Regions from separate parts of the Homo sapiens genome. Here all the other regions are linked to region 1. Evidence: promoter capture Hi-C in 16 types of primary human blood cells and fetal thymus (Javierre and others, 2016). All regions are on one chromosome and are shown on one strand. The core of a region is centred on a gene start or on the middle of the fragment in contact, and the rest is flanking DNA. Distances in the headings are between cores, read along the strand shown. Region 1 holds the start of ARL4A (ARF like GTPase 4A). Region 2 overlaps DGKB (diacylglycerol kinase beta). Region 3 has its middle 3.3 kb from the start of ETV1. Region 4 overlaps ETV1 (ETS variant transcription factor 1).

What was found. Contacts are between HindIII fragments. The CHiCAGO score rates a contact against its expected background, and 5 or more counts as called.
Region 2: a fragment that was not itself captured here is called in contact with the fragment with the promoter of ARL4A in region 1 in 4 of 17 cell types (total CD4 T cells, M2 macrophages, naive CD8 T cells and 1 more); the score reaches 7.7 in total CD4 T cells.
Region 3: a fragment that was not itself captured here is called in contact with the fragment with the promoter of ARL4A in region 1 in 1 of 17 cell types (fetal thymus); the score reaches 7.4 in fetal thymus.
Region 4: a fragment that was not itself captured here is called in contact with the fragment with the promoter of ARL4A in region 1 in 1 of 17 cell types (monocytes); the score reaches 5.4 in monocytes.

The regions. Positions count from the first base shown.
Region 1 is chr7:12,686,187-12,689,169 of GRCh38, forward strand. ARL4A (ARF like GTPase 4A) reads left to right here and starts at 1,447. Exons shown (of 2, transcript NM_005738.5): 1 at 1,447-1,542; 2 at 1,980-2,983. The coding sequence starts at 2,069. The coding sequence ends at 2,671. It also overlaps the pseudogene LOC100505995. RefSeq lists silencers at 482-761, 962-1,011 and an enhancer at 956-1,492. The HindIII fragment of the contact is 3,768 bases long and covers 1-2,782 here.
Region 2 is chr7:14,454,029-14,457,011 of GRCh38, forward strand. The region is part of intron 21 of DGKB (diacylglycerol kinase beta); the gene reads right to left. Among named protein-coding and RNA genes, the nearest start is that of DGKB, 450 kb to the right of the region's middle. The HindIII fragment of the contact is 1,781 bases long and covers 609-2,389 here.
Region 3 is chr7:13,991,437-13,994,419 of GRCh38, forward strand. No RefSeq gene overlaps it. Among named protein-coding and RNA genes, the nearest start is that of ETV1, 3.3 kb to the left of the region's middle. RefSeq lists an enhancer at 1-251. The HindIII fragment of the contact is 2,079 bases long and covers 571-2,649 here.
Region 4 is chr7:13,895,763-13,898,745 of GRCh38, forward strand. ETV1 (ETS variant transcription factor 1) reads right to left here. Exons shown (of 14, transcript NM_004956.5): 14 at 1-325. The coding sequence ends at 104. Among named protein-coding and RNA genes, the nearest start is that of ETV1, 92 kb to the right of the region's middle. The HindIII fragment of the contact is 1,566 bases long and covers 674-2,239 here.

The DNA of each region.
Region 1 (2,983 bases), core at 197-2,696:
AAACGCTAGTTTTAAAGAGAACTGGACACTCAATCAAAATACTCCTGTCTCACTCCAGCACATACAAATGGTGTAGTTGAATGGTATATTGGAAATTATATCTATTGCAATTAAAATTGTGTGAGCAATTTGAAAGAAAAGAAAAAAAGAAACATCCCTTTCATCTTTCAGAGTGTATTTCCTTATGTGTCAAACTGGAATATTTCTATCTGTGGCCAGTTCCCCGGGATGCTGCTAGAAACACGTGAGACAGCGCGTTCATTTGCTCTACAAAAAGCGAATGAAGGCGCAGTTACCAGGCCAGTCAACCCAGGCTGTTTAAGGTCAACTACTGGGGGACTTCCACGTCACCTCGATATATACGTAACGCGTGTGTGCCGTAACCCGTGAACTATGGAATCCCTAACCGCGAATCACGTGGCTGCTGCCCCGCGGACGCCCTAGACGACGTGAGGGAAGGCGGTGCCGGGCGGGGCCTGTGCCAGGCTGGCGGGCCGCCGCAGACAGAGCTACCCGGAGCAACCGTTCAGGGGTGAGGCCGGAAGTCCCATCCGACCTCGCGGGCAGCCAGCGCTAGGCCGATTCGAACTCGACCTTGTTTTGGCGTTGCTAGGAGACGCGGCTCCTGCGCGCCCCCTACAGGCCGGCGCCCGGGCGGCGCGCGGGCAGGGGGCGGGGACTGTCGCGTGGAGCTGCCGGGCGAGCACCGTTAGGGCAGCCTGGCGCGCGGCGCCCGCCAGGCGCCCAGTCCTCTGCCATCGCCCACGCCTCCCTGGTGCCAGGGAACAGGTATCAGCGCGCCTCCCCAGCGGCTGGGAGAGACGCTGAATGAAGAAGAGGGAAGGACGGTTAGTCAGGTGAGCCGCGGCGGGGTGGGCGGCCGGGGCGGCCACGCCCTGCCGAGGGAGAAGAGCCGGTCGTGTGCGGAGGGACAGGGTGAAGGGATCCCACTTCGGGGAGGATGGGCTTATCCCGGCGGGCGCGCCAGGTGGGATCTCTAGCGCCTCAGGGGCCCGCGCGGCAACAGCCGGCACCCTCGGGCCCGCGGACAAAGGGTTAACGCGTTGGCAGTGACTGCGGGCCCCGGATGTGAGAGCCTTGGCTTGACGCCCTGGCTGCGCTGCAGGTGCGCCGGGCCGAACGGAGCCGGCAGCCTGGCGGCGACCTGACCGCCCGAGGCTCCCCTTCACCTGCAGCGGCTGCTCGGCTCCCTCTGGGAACGCCGCCTTTTCTAACTTAAGGGCAACAGGTGGTGCCGGTGGACCGAGAGAGAGCTCAGCTCCGCCGCGCTGGGAGCGGCAGTTACCCTCACCAATTAGGGAGCGGGGGCGGGAGTTGCATGGCTTCCCTGATGCGGGTGACCAATGGGATTTGGGATCATGAGTGGACCGGGAGGAGTGGGCGTGGTCGGAGTCTGAGTCCAAGGTTTCTCGTGCGGCAACTGCCAGAGCTGCTTGGAGAGCTAAGCTGGAAGGGTGCTTATCCCTGCGTAGAAACGCCTGCCAATGCTTTCTCATTTGGACCCAGACTCCAGATCGGGAGGTGAGAACGTTGTTATTTTGCAAGGGGTAGGAGGTAATAGTGATCTTGGGTATGCTGTTAAGCATGTGGAATTAGATTCCGAAGATAGGACTATCTGCTATGAGTTTTCTGCCAGATAGGCACTTTGTGGTTACGGCCACTTAGACCAGATACTGGTGACTGGGTTCTTTCCAGAATGAGGTCTTTGAGGTTTGGGGACCCAGGAGAAAAACGTACATATTACTGCAATTTAAGTAAACCAGATAATTTCAATCACTGTTATTCCATCGTTTGTCTTGGACTGTGTGTGTTTTCATGTACGTTTCATATCTCGTCTGGTTTGTTTAGCGCAGCAAGTTATAGTAAGTTCTTCGTGTTGTTTATTTTAGCAAAGTAGAGCAAACCTGTTTTAATGTATTATTTCGGGAGAATAACTTATTCCTTCTTCCGTCTCCCAGCAGTCTTATAGCTGGATCAGCTACCAAGAGAAGTTGTAAACCAAGAAGAGAAAAGCATTTCAATTTGGGACATTTATTTGCACCTGGAAATGGGGAATGGGCTGTCAGACCAGACTTCTATCCTGTCCAACCTGCCTTCATTTCAGTCTTTCCACATTGTTATTCTGGGTTTGGACTGTGCTGGAAAGACAACTGTCTTATACAGGCTGCAGTTCAATGAATTTGTAAATACCGTACCTACCAAAGGATTTAACACTGAGAAAATTAAGGTAACCTTGGGAAATTCTAAAACAGTCACTTTTCACTTCTGGGATGTAGGTGGTCAGGAGAAATTAAGGCCACTGTGGAAGTCATATACCAGATGCACAGATGGCATTGTATTTGTTGTGGACTCTGTTGATGTCGAAAGGATGGAAGAAGCCAAAACTGAACTTCACAAAATAACTAGGATATCAGAAAATCAGGGAGTCCCTGTACTTATAGTTGCTAACAAACAAGATTTGAGGAACTCATTGTCACTTTCAGAAATTGAGAAATTGTTAGCAATGGGTGAACTGAGCTCATCAACTCCTTGGCATTTGCAGCCTACCTGTGCAATCATAGGAGATGGCCTAAAGGAAGGACTTGAGAAACTACATGATATGATCATTAAAAGAAGAAAAATGTTGCGGCAACAGAAAAAGAAAAGATGAATATCAATACCTATTATATCTGTGTGGAGTAGGTTTTCTCTGGTCTGATTTTGACAAATAGAAGAGTGTCTACAGCGTGGTTTGCCTGTCTGCCCTCCTGGATGCTATTAAAGCTTTGTTTTGTTGAACAATCAGATGCCCAACTCTGTTGCCTTGTGGAAGATGAGTAAATGCAGTGCTTCTTAAAGTGGTCTCTTCTCCCTACCCCACAAATCTTTTGGTACTACCATTTGGGGAAGCCAAGCAAGGATAGTAAATTGACCAGAACACAGTTGTGGGAATTTGGTCTGAAGTTAGTGAAATAAAACTTTA
Region 2 (2,983 bases), core at 249-2,748, 1.8 Mb after region 1:
GTTACACACATTGCAGATACATGTGCTATTTTGAGACATGTATATAATGTGTAATGATCAAGTCAGCCTAATTGGAATATCCATCACCTCAAACATTCAACTTTTCTAGTGTTAGAACATTACACTTCTTCTCTTCTACCTGTTTTGAAATATACCACACATTATTGTTAACTATACTTTTCCTACTGTAGTATTGAATACTACAACTTATTCCATCTATCTAAGTATATTTTTGTACCCATTGATCCACTTCTAATTTGAAAATACTTCCCTATTTTAAAAAATCACTTAATTCTATGGTATTTCCTGTATGTCTCTAGCAGACCTATGTTCTTTTATTGACTAGGATTTTGACTGCAAACACATTTTAAGGCAATTATTTAGTAGCCTATGTTTTTACAAACATTCATGTTCAATAGTTGCAGTAACTCTGTGAGATTGTCTTAAGAAAACCATTCCAATTTACAAAGGTAGCTTCCACGTTCAGGAATTATAATATGGCTTTTAAATCTAAATTTTGTGCTCTTGTGATTATGTGACACGATCTTTGCATTATATAGAAATCATATATGATTGCTATCAGATGCACGTTAACTTTTAAATAATAAAGCTTTCAATGAACTTTCAACTCCATTTTTCACTTTCTAAGAATCACCTAATATTTCTGACACATCTTTGTAAATCCCAGAGAGTTACTGGACCCCTGCATTATAGCATCAATATCCTGCATACACTTGAGTCACATGATAGTTTTGATAGTAAATTCTGATGGGAATAAAAACAAAAGAAATGGTATTACTCTAGCTAACATGACATGTATTATTCAATTTAATTTAATAGTATAACAATCCTGAGAACTAAGAATCACTATTCTACTCTCATAGGTGATGAAATGGATGCTACTAAATTCTAAATAATTTACCCTAGGCTTCAGAACTGGTAAGAGGCAGAAGTAGAATTCAGACACAGATAGAACCGAAGGTTTGTCTTTTTCATATGACATCAGAAGTGTCTCCTGGTTATCTATGGAACCCAATATCACGTTTGAACTTCCCAACCATCAATATACTTTTTAATTTTCTATAAACTCTGTTTAGAATTCTCTGTATTTCTTTATGACAACCAGGAAAACTTGCTTATACCATTTGAGCAGTGAAGTTAAAAATCACAGACATAACTTCAATATGAATTTTATTACTGGTTATCTGCTAGAGAGCTTGGAACATTCTGAATGGAATTAAAATGCATTTCATTGGTGTGGAATCATGAACATTTGTTAAAATTGTTTTGTAAAAAACTCCCTAGGTTTTCACAGCTGTAGAAATGCTCCCTCAAAGAAATAAGTGCAGAATGAATAAAAACAGATGTGGCATTTTTGCATATTATCAACAAAAATCTCTTTTTATTTTATCTTGTCAATGTCTTACCATAACATTATTTATGCCATTATTCTGTTCACAACAAGTGCAAAGAAATTACATGACATTTCCAGTACATATACTGGTCTTCAGTAGGGTTTTCTGGTTACTTATATTTCTCTAGAGAGTACCTTTGCACAGGAAGTAATTTTCTATGTTTTCTAACTAAAACCCAACCTTTCTGGCTGTGCACTCTGAGAAACAGCAAACATTCTCCACTCTATTAAAAGTAATTGAGTCGGAACATTTAAAGGTATTTTAAATGAATGTGCACTGAACATTCTTCAACTTGGTTCAGGAAATAGATATAAGAAAGTTTTTAATACCCTGAAATTTTTAAGAAGAGGAAATTACCTTTGGTTATTTAAAGCTAGAAAAGATTGGGTTTAAGAACTTTAAGACAACGGGCTAAAATCAACTCCAAGGCAATGAAAGCGTCTTCCTTTAAAAAGTCACTAGTGTTTTGTGTTTATAAATTTGTGCCTTCACTGTTGAATTTGTGCCTTCACTATTTAAAATGTATACACCGTATACAGGTTTAGCATTTCTAATCCAAAAATCCAAAATCCGAAATGTTACAAAATCTAAAATTTTTGAGGGCCAACGGGATGCCACATGTGGAAAATTCAACACGTAAGTACTTAACTCAAACTCTGTTCCATGCACAATATTATTAAGAATATTGCATGAAATTATTTTCAGGTTATGTGTATAAGGTATATATGAAACATAAGTGAGTTTTGTGTTTTGTGATAGACTTGGGTCATATCACCAAAATACCTCATTATGTATATGGAAATATCCCAAAATATAAAAAAGTCTGAAATCTGAAATAGTTAGGATCCCAAGCATTTCACATAAGAGCTGCTGAACCTGTAGTACTCTTTTAGGCACTCAGATGTAGAGTGAAGTTAATTCTGTATAATATAAGCTAAAAAACATAATCATTGGCAGTACCTAGTGGTAACTCAAGCTTTCAACATCATTAGAATTTGAGGATGTTAATATACCTGCACAAAACAATCCTATGTGACTTTTCAAAGATGAAATTGCACTCAGTGTGGTCAAATGAAGAAATTAAATCATGCTATGAATAAGTGATGTTTTATTAGGTAGATGTTCTAGCAAAACCTAATGCTTTACCTGAGAAGTTAATCACTTCTTACATTATTTTTCCAATTGTTTGTCTTCCCAAGAGTTGTGCTAACTTAATATTAATTTGATATATTAGCTGTATTCACTTAAAAGTTTACACAAAAATATTTTACCATTTGTAATTGTTTCAAGTTTATATAAAGAATTAAATATATTTTAACAAGCATCTACATAATTGACATGATTTTTTTCTAACCTGAAAACCTAATTATCACCTTCTTATAGAGGACAAGGAACAGCTTTGCAGGCAAATTAATGTATCCTATCAGTGGGACAGTTTGTCACTTGCTTAAATAATCATCATCTTTGTTATAAGCTTTACAGAATGAAGAAAAGAGATAGGACCCCTCTCATACTATTACACATTAAAATTAACTTCCCACAGGTTTTTCAACAGTTTCCTACACTTT
Region 3 (2,983 bases), core at 360-2,859, 1.3 Mb after region 1:
CCCAGCCCATTGTTGTTTATTGCTGACCCCTCAGCGCTCCGCTAGGAGATTGGCCGCTTTAGGGAAGGGGGCGGAGTCCCGCCCGCCCCAACAGCCACCTTTCGTCTCCATTCACAAAATTCCGGCCCTTCTTGGTCACGTGGTTGGGGGCGTGGAGGGGTAGAGGAAATGACACAACAAAGGCCCAAGTATCCCAAACCACAAAACTTTTTTCAGCTCGCTGCCTCCTCTTTGTCCTGTCCCTGAAACAGATACTAGATGAGGAAAAAGAGGTTGGGGTCTGGGAGTAATAACAAGAGAGAAAAAAATTAAGACCGAAATTAAAGGAAGGCTCACGTGGGGATAATTCCGGCGTGCACTGCTTAGACAGCTTTTGCACTAGAGGAAAGAAAGAATTGAGAGTGGGGAGAAAGTCTTAAGGACTGGGAACTTTTGCTTGCTGCTTCAAGTCATTGCTTTTAAAGGTGCAAACTGTTCGACTGTAGATGGATTTCAGTTTTTTCACTTAACATTCTGTAATTTTCATTTCTACCTTTTTTTGTATCCCACAGTGTCTTGTTAGTTTTTTAAAGCTTTTATGTATTATTAGTATTATATATTTTTAGGAATATTGATGGTTTTCGCTGGCTGATAGCTTTAGTTTCCATTTCCAAAGACTTATCACTCCTTCCCAGGCCCCCATAAGCTCTGCGCCCCTTCTCCCTCCCTTTAGTGGACTGGCACTCTCAGGCGCTGCGCTGTTAAGCCTCAGATTTTACTACGTATTGCGGTGGCTTCATATTTTCCCTTTTGAGTTCTTTAAACGAACTCATATCTTTTAACTCTTTGATCTTCATAGTAACTGAAAATGATGTTCTCGTGTGAATAAGCAGCTAGTCTCGCTACAGCTCGGTTTTGTTGAAACAGCCTAAAATTTTGAGATAAATGTGTCCCTCTTGACTGTGAACGATTGAACCACCCTCTTTTCTTTCTCCCACTTTCTCTTCTGTCCTTTCTCTGCATTGATACTTACTGAAACACTATCTCTTCTGTCCTTTCTATGCCTTGATACTCAGACACTAGCTTCTAGTTTGGCAGTTGTTTATCTTCTCTGCTTGGCACTGGGAAAAACCAATAGACCCACTTGCTGAAGACAGTGGAAGGGCTGAAAATTTGTTTTTCAGAAAATGTAAGATCTTGGAAAATATCTGCAAAGGCAGCTGTTCTGTCTACAAGACAGGAACATAAAAAGCTGGACAAAGTTTCCACTACTTTTTGAGAATGTCTTTAAAACATCAGTTTAGTAAATGCCAGCCCTTTTGAACGGAAAATTTCATTTTGGCAGGATTTCAGGCATAGAATGGCAGAGCAGAGGCCAAGAGGCTTTGACATTTATTTGCTTGTATTTTGAAATCCCATTTGGATTTTGAAATAAGAGTTCTTGAGAGAAAGCTACCCCCCTCCAAAAAAAAGTCCATTTTTGAGTTTGGAAAGTTTTTAGGTTGCATGTAAAACTATTTAAATTTTTATATTTCCCTTGCTGTTATTTAATAAAGTAAAATAATATTCATTAGTGACTTCTCTACAGTTAACTTACTATGGCATTATGAAGAAATTGCACGTTGTTAAAGAAAGTGAATTTCTAAAAGCAGTTACAGAAAGGCAACAAGCTAAAATGGCGCTGCTTGTTTTAAATGGTTGCTATAATTAAAATCAAATGAAGTTTGCTCAAAATTGAGTAGAGTATTAAGTAAAACAGTAACTTTTAAAATTTGTTGTATTAAAACAGTATGTAAGGCAAATTGTTAAAGATCTAGTTTGCACAGTTACATCAAATAGATAAGAAAAAGATATAAAATTAAACAGCAAAATTGGCCAAGAAAATGAACAAGTGAAAATAATTCCAAAGGAGAACATAGAGTCCTCACAGGAGGGTGAAAGATAATCAGTGGCTTCAGGAACACTGTATGTGAGGAGTAGCAGAAATTTGAGAGGAGGGTGGAGCCTGGGAAGAAGGTAAGGGTATCAAGGAAACTGATACTATGTAGCTGTATACTCTCTCACTCTCAATACTGCCATTTTCAGCTGGTGACTATCTGTAAACTCCCTCAAGTAGAGGAATTGCAAACAACTTATAAATGTGGAAAAAAAAACTTTTAACTGCACCCCAAATCAGTACATTATACTGTACACTTAAAAAATAAAGAATTTTTTTATTTTTATTATTTATTTATTTATTTATTTATTTATTTATTTATTTATTTTGAGACAGAGTCTTGCTCTGTCACCCAGGCTGAAGTGCAGTGGCGCGATCTCGGCTCACTGCAACCTCTACCTCCTGGGTTCAAGTGATTCTCCTGCCTCAGCCTCCCAAGTAGCTGGGAGTACAGGTGCCCGCCACCATGCCCAGCTGATTTTTGTATTTTTAGTAGAGATGGGGTTTCACCATATTGGTCAGGCTGGTCTCAAATCCTGACCTTGTGATCCGCCCACCTTGGCCTCCCAAAGTGCTAGGATTACAGGCATGAGCCACCGCGCCCTGCCTTAAAGAATGTTTTAACTCATCAATTTGGAAGGAAGTTTCTAATATACTTAGAGTTGGATCCTAGGATAAGGGCACTCATGTATATTGCTGGTTGGAATGTGACTTTTTGAAACCTTTTGAAGGTAAGCTTACAATGTCTACTAGACTTTAAAATGAACATCTATTAGACCCTAAAATTATATCCAATAATCCTCATTTGGGAAATCTATACTACAAAAATAAAAGCAATGGTGCATGAAGACATTTATTGAAATATTAGGTACCAAGGAAAAAATCTGGCAGCAACTTCAGTATCCACCAATAAGGAAATGGATTTGACAAAGTATGATACTCTTATAGTTTGGAATTCAATTATCATTATATACCTGTTAAAAAGTATGCTATATGGTTGGTTCTCAAATTTGAGATTATATAAGACACTCCTTGTTAAAAAGTGACATCCCTGGGTGGATTCATAGA
Region 4 (2,983 bases), core at 207-2,706, 1.2 Mb after region 1:
AATAAAATACAAACAACAGAAATAAAACAAAGATTCAGCAATTCTCTGTATCTTGCAGAAAAAAGGAAAAGCGCAAAAACGCCCTGCTTGACTGTCACTTGTGTTAATACACGTAGCCTTCGTTGTAGGGGTGGGGGTTGCAGCAGCCCCCTTCCGGCATGTAGGCCATGCTCTCATCAAAGTGAGAAAGAGGCACTGTGTCCTCCTCGTTGATGTGACGTTCCATGTCTGTCTTCAGCAGTGGACGCTGATTATCTGGAAAGGCCATGGAGAAAAGGGCTTCTGGATCACACACAAACTTGTAGACATATCTCTCTCCAGCCACCTGATGATAACATGGAAGAGAAAAACCCATCCTCACCATCGCCAGATGGGGAAGGACAGGAAGGAAAAAGCCAAAAACGTGGTTTAATATACAGGAAAGGATGGGTAACTCTGGCCCAAAAAAGCAAACAACTAATAGCAGATACACATAAAAAAAAAAAAGTCTTTACTTTGTGGAATAAACTACAGTTCAGTCAAGGGAGATGCAAAATGTTGACCTTGAATAATAATTAATTAATTCCAGATATAGCTAGGAAGCACAGGAATTTGCTTGTCTTAATATAGAGGTAAACTTACATCGTTGTTTTGAAAAAAAGTCAATTATTTAATGCAGGCATTTCATATTGAAAGCTTTTTTTCTGCATTTTAAAAGGTAGTATCTACAAATCTGTACTTTTAAGGTACACTGTCCCTCTTAATATTACATATCTGAAATGGTAGAAAAACTAAATTCAAAATTTAAAAGAAAAATGTGCTTTATTCCCAATAAGACTAGACTAGTAATTCACTGATTCACAGAATAAATGGATTCTTTACTTTTTTTCTTTTTTGGCAGTGTGTGTTGAAAGAAGAAAGAAAGGAAAGAAATAAAGAAAGAAAGAAAAGAGAGAGAGAAAGAAAGAAAGGAGAGAGAAAGAAAAAGAAAAAGAAAGAAAGGAAAGAAAGAAAGAAAGAAAGAAAGAAAGAAAGAAAGAAAGAAAGAAAGGATACACAGCCTCATTTAAATGAAAGATGGATCAAAAGGACAGTATCCTGGGTACATCACTTTTAAAAATGAAGGCAAGATGCATTAGACAGAGTTAAGGATGTGTGTAAAGTGTCAAATTGAAGTAAGAGGTGTAAAAAAGTGAAAGGAATTTAAAATACACAATGCACAGGGAGGAAATGAGAAAAAGAAATGTGACAACTGCCTGGAATAAAGAAGTAGCATAATTTATAGGGTATGACATACCCCAAACTTAAATTCTGAAGAGTAATGCTTCCCTAGAAAATTATAAACAACTGAGTGAGATGAATACGCCTCTTGTTAATAGACAATGCTGAGATGCTCTCAAAACCCGGGGTGGGGGGATGGGTGGATGAATACAGTTCTTTCTATTAACTTTGATAGTCACTTTGTATGGGTGTGTGTAAAGGTATGAGATTTTAGAAAGCTGAAGGTGACACAACACCTCCATGTTCCTGTATATCAACAAGGCATTTGCTAGTTGATTTTTGATGTGGGGCAACAGTGTGTTCCTGGGTTATAAAGTATTGTTATATCTTTGAGGGAAAAGTAACAATTGTCAATGAATGCTGCTGCTCTGAATTCAAATTTAGAACATTTTTTGTTTCTTTTGCCCTGAATTTAAGTAAGAGGAACCACTTTAGAGAATTCAAATAATCTGAATGTACCTAGGTTTGAAAGAATGAACATTTAGTAGTTTTTATGAATTTGGACCTGTTTCTTAGACTACCTCTCAGTGGCCTTTGCTGTGAAATGGAGACAGGAATGGCGCCTCAGAAAGCCCATTGCAAGGTTGGGATGGAAGTCTCCAGCACAGAGCACTGTGCCAGAAACAGAGGAGTCTGGCATACATTTATTTACTTTAGTCCTTCATACAAAGAAAATTAAGATCTTAAAGGTGAAATGATGAAATGACCATAAACATAAAAATAGCACTATCAGGAACAAAGCTGAGATAGTAAATCCTAGTTTTCCTTTATTTTTTTCTTTGTTCAAAGTATTTGGAGAAAAAATAAAATAAAATAAATGGCCTGCATACCTCTGAGTGTTTTATAATGTGCTTTGTTTTGTTTGGGGCTGTGGAGGAAGATACATTTGCTTTAAGTACTGGACTTCCTTTGACGGGTTGCTACTGGCTATACTTAAAAATTATGTAATAAATGAATTAAAATGTGTAACATGCAATCAAGCTTATGCAATCTCTCAAGGACTCTGCCTTTCCTCACTGCTTCCTTCTGTATTGCTTTTGAATAAACATTTTTAGGGCTACTACTTCATTTGCTGGACTATGTTAAATGCTACTGAGTTTAGAACAAGGGATGATAACCAACCAAGGGGAATGATGTCTTCCATTATGAGTAACAGAAGTACTAACGTGCAAAATGCTGTACATTAAGTATAGCCAAAATGCAACACTGAGACAGACAGAAAAAACAGGAATTTTTCCAGGGAGATAAATCAAAAGTAAACAAGGAGATAGCTTTAGAGCTGTGCTTTCAATGGCTGGATATTCAAATTATGTTTTATCTCTTAAAATTTCAGAAGTAATATGGGGATACTGAAGGATAAATTAGAAATTATCAATTAAGTTAAAACAAAGGGTCTATAATTATATCATCCAGAATATAATCACCATTAACATATTGGTATATATTGTTCTAGGCATTTCCTAATTTTGAAATAGAAGTACACATAGGCATTGTCTGTAAGGTAAACATACACTGTTCCATTGTTTCTTACTTCTTCCGTATTACTAAAATTAATTACCAGTTTTCAATTTTTTTAACATGTTCAGATGTAAGTTATTTTTATTTTTCTCTAATCTTCTAATTTTCTATATTATATACACCACATATGCCCACAAAGTTTTAAGTTAGTGAACAAATATAGCCATATAAATATTTTCTCCTACATGTTAAAATATATAATTCA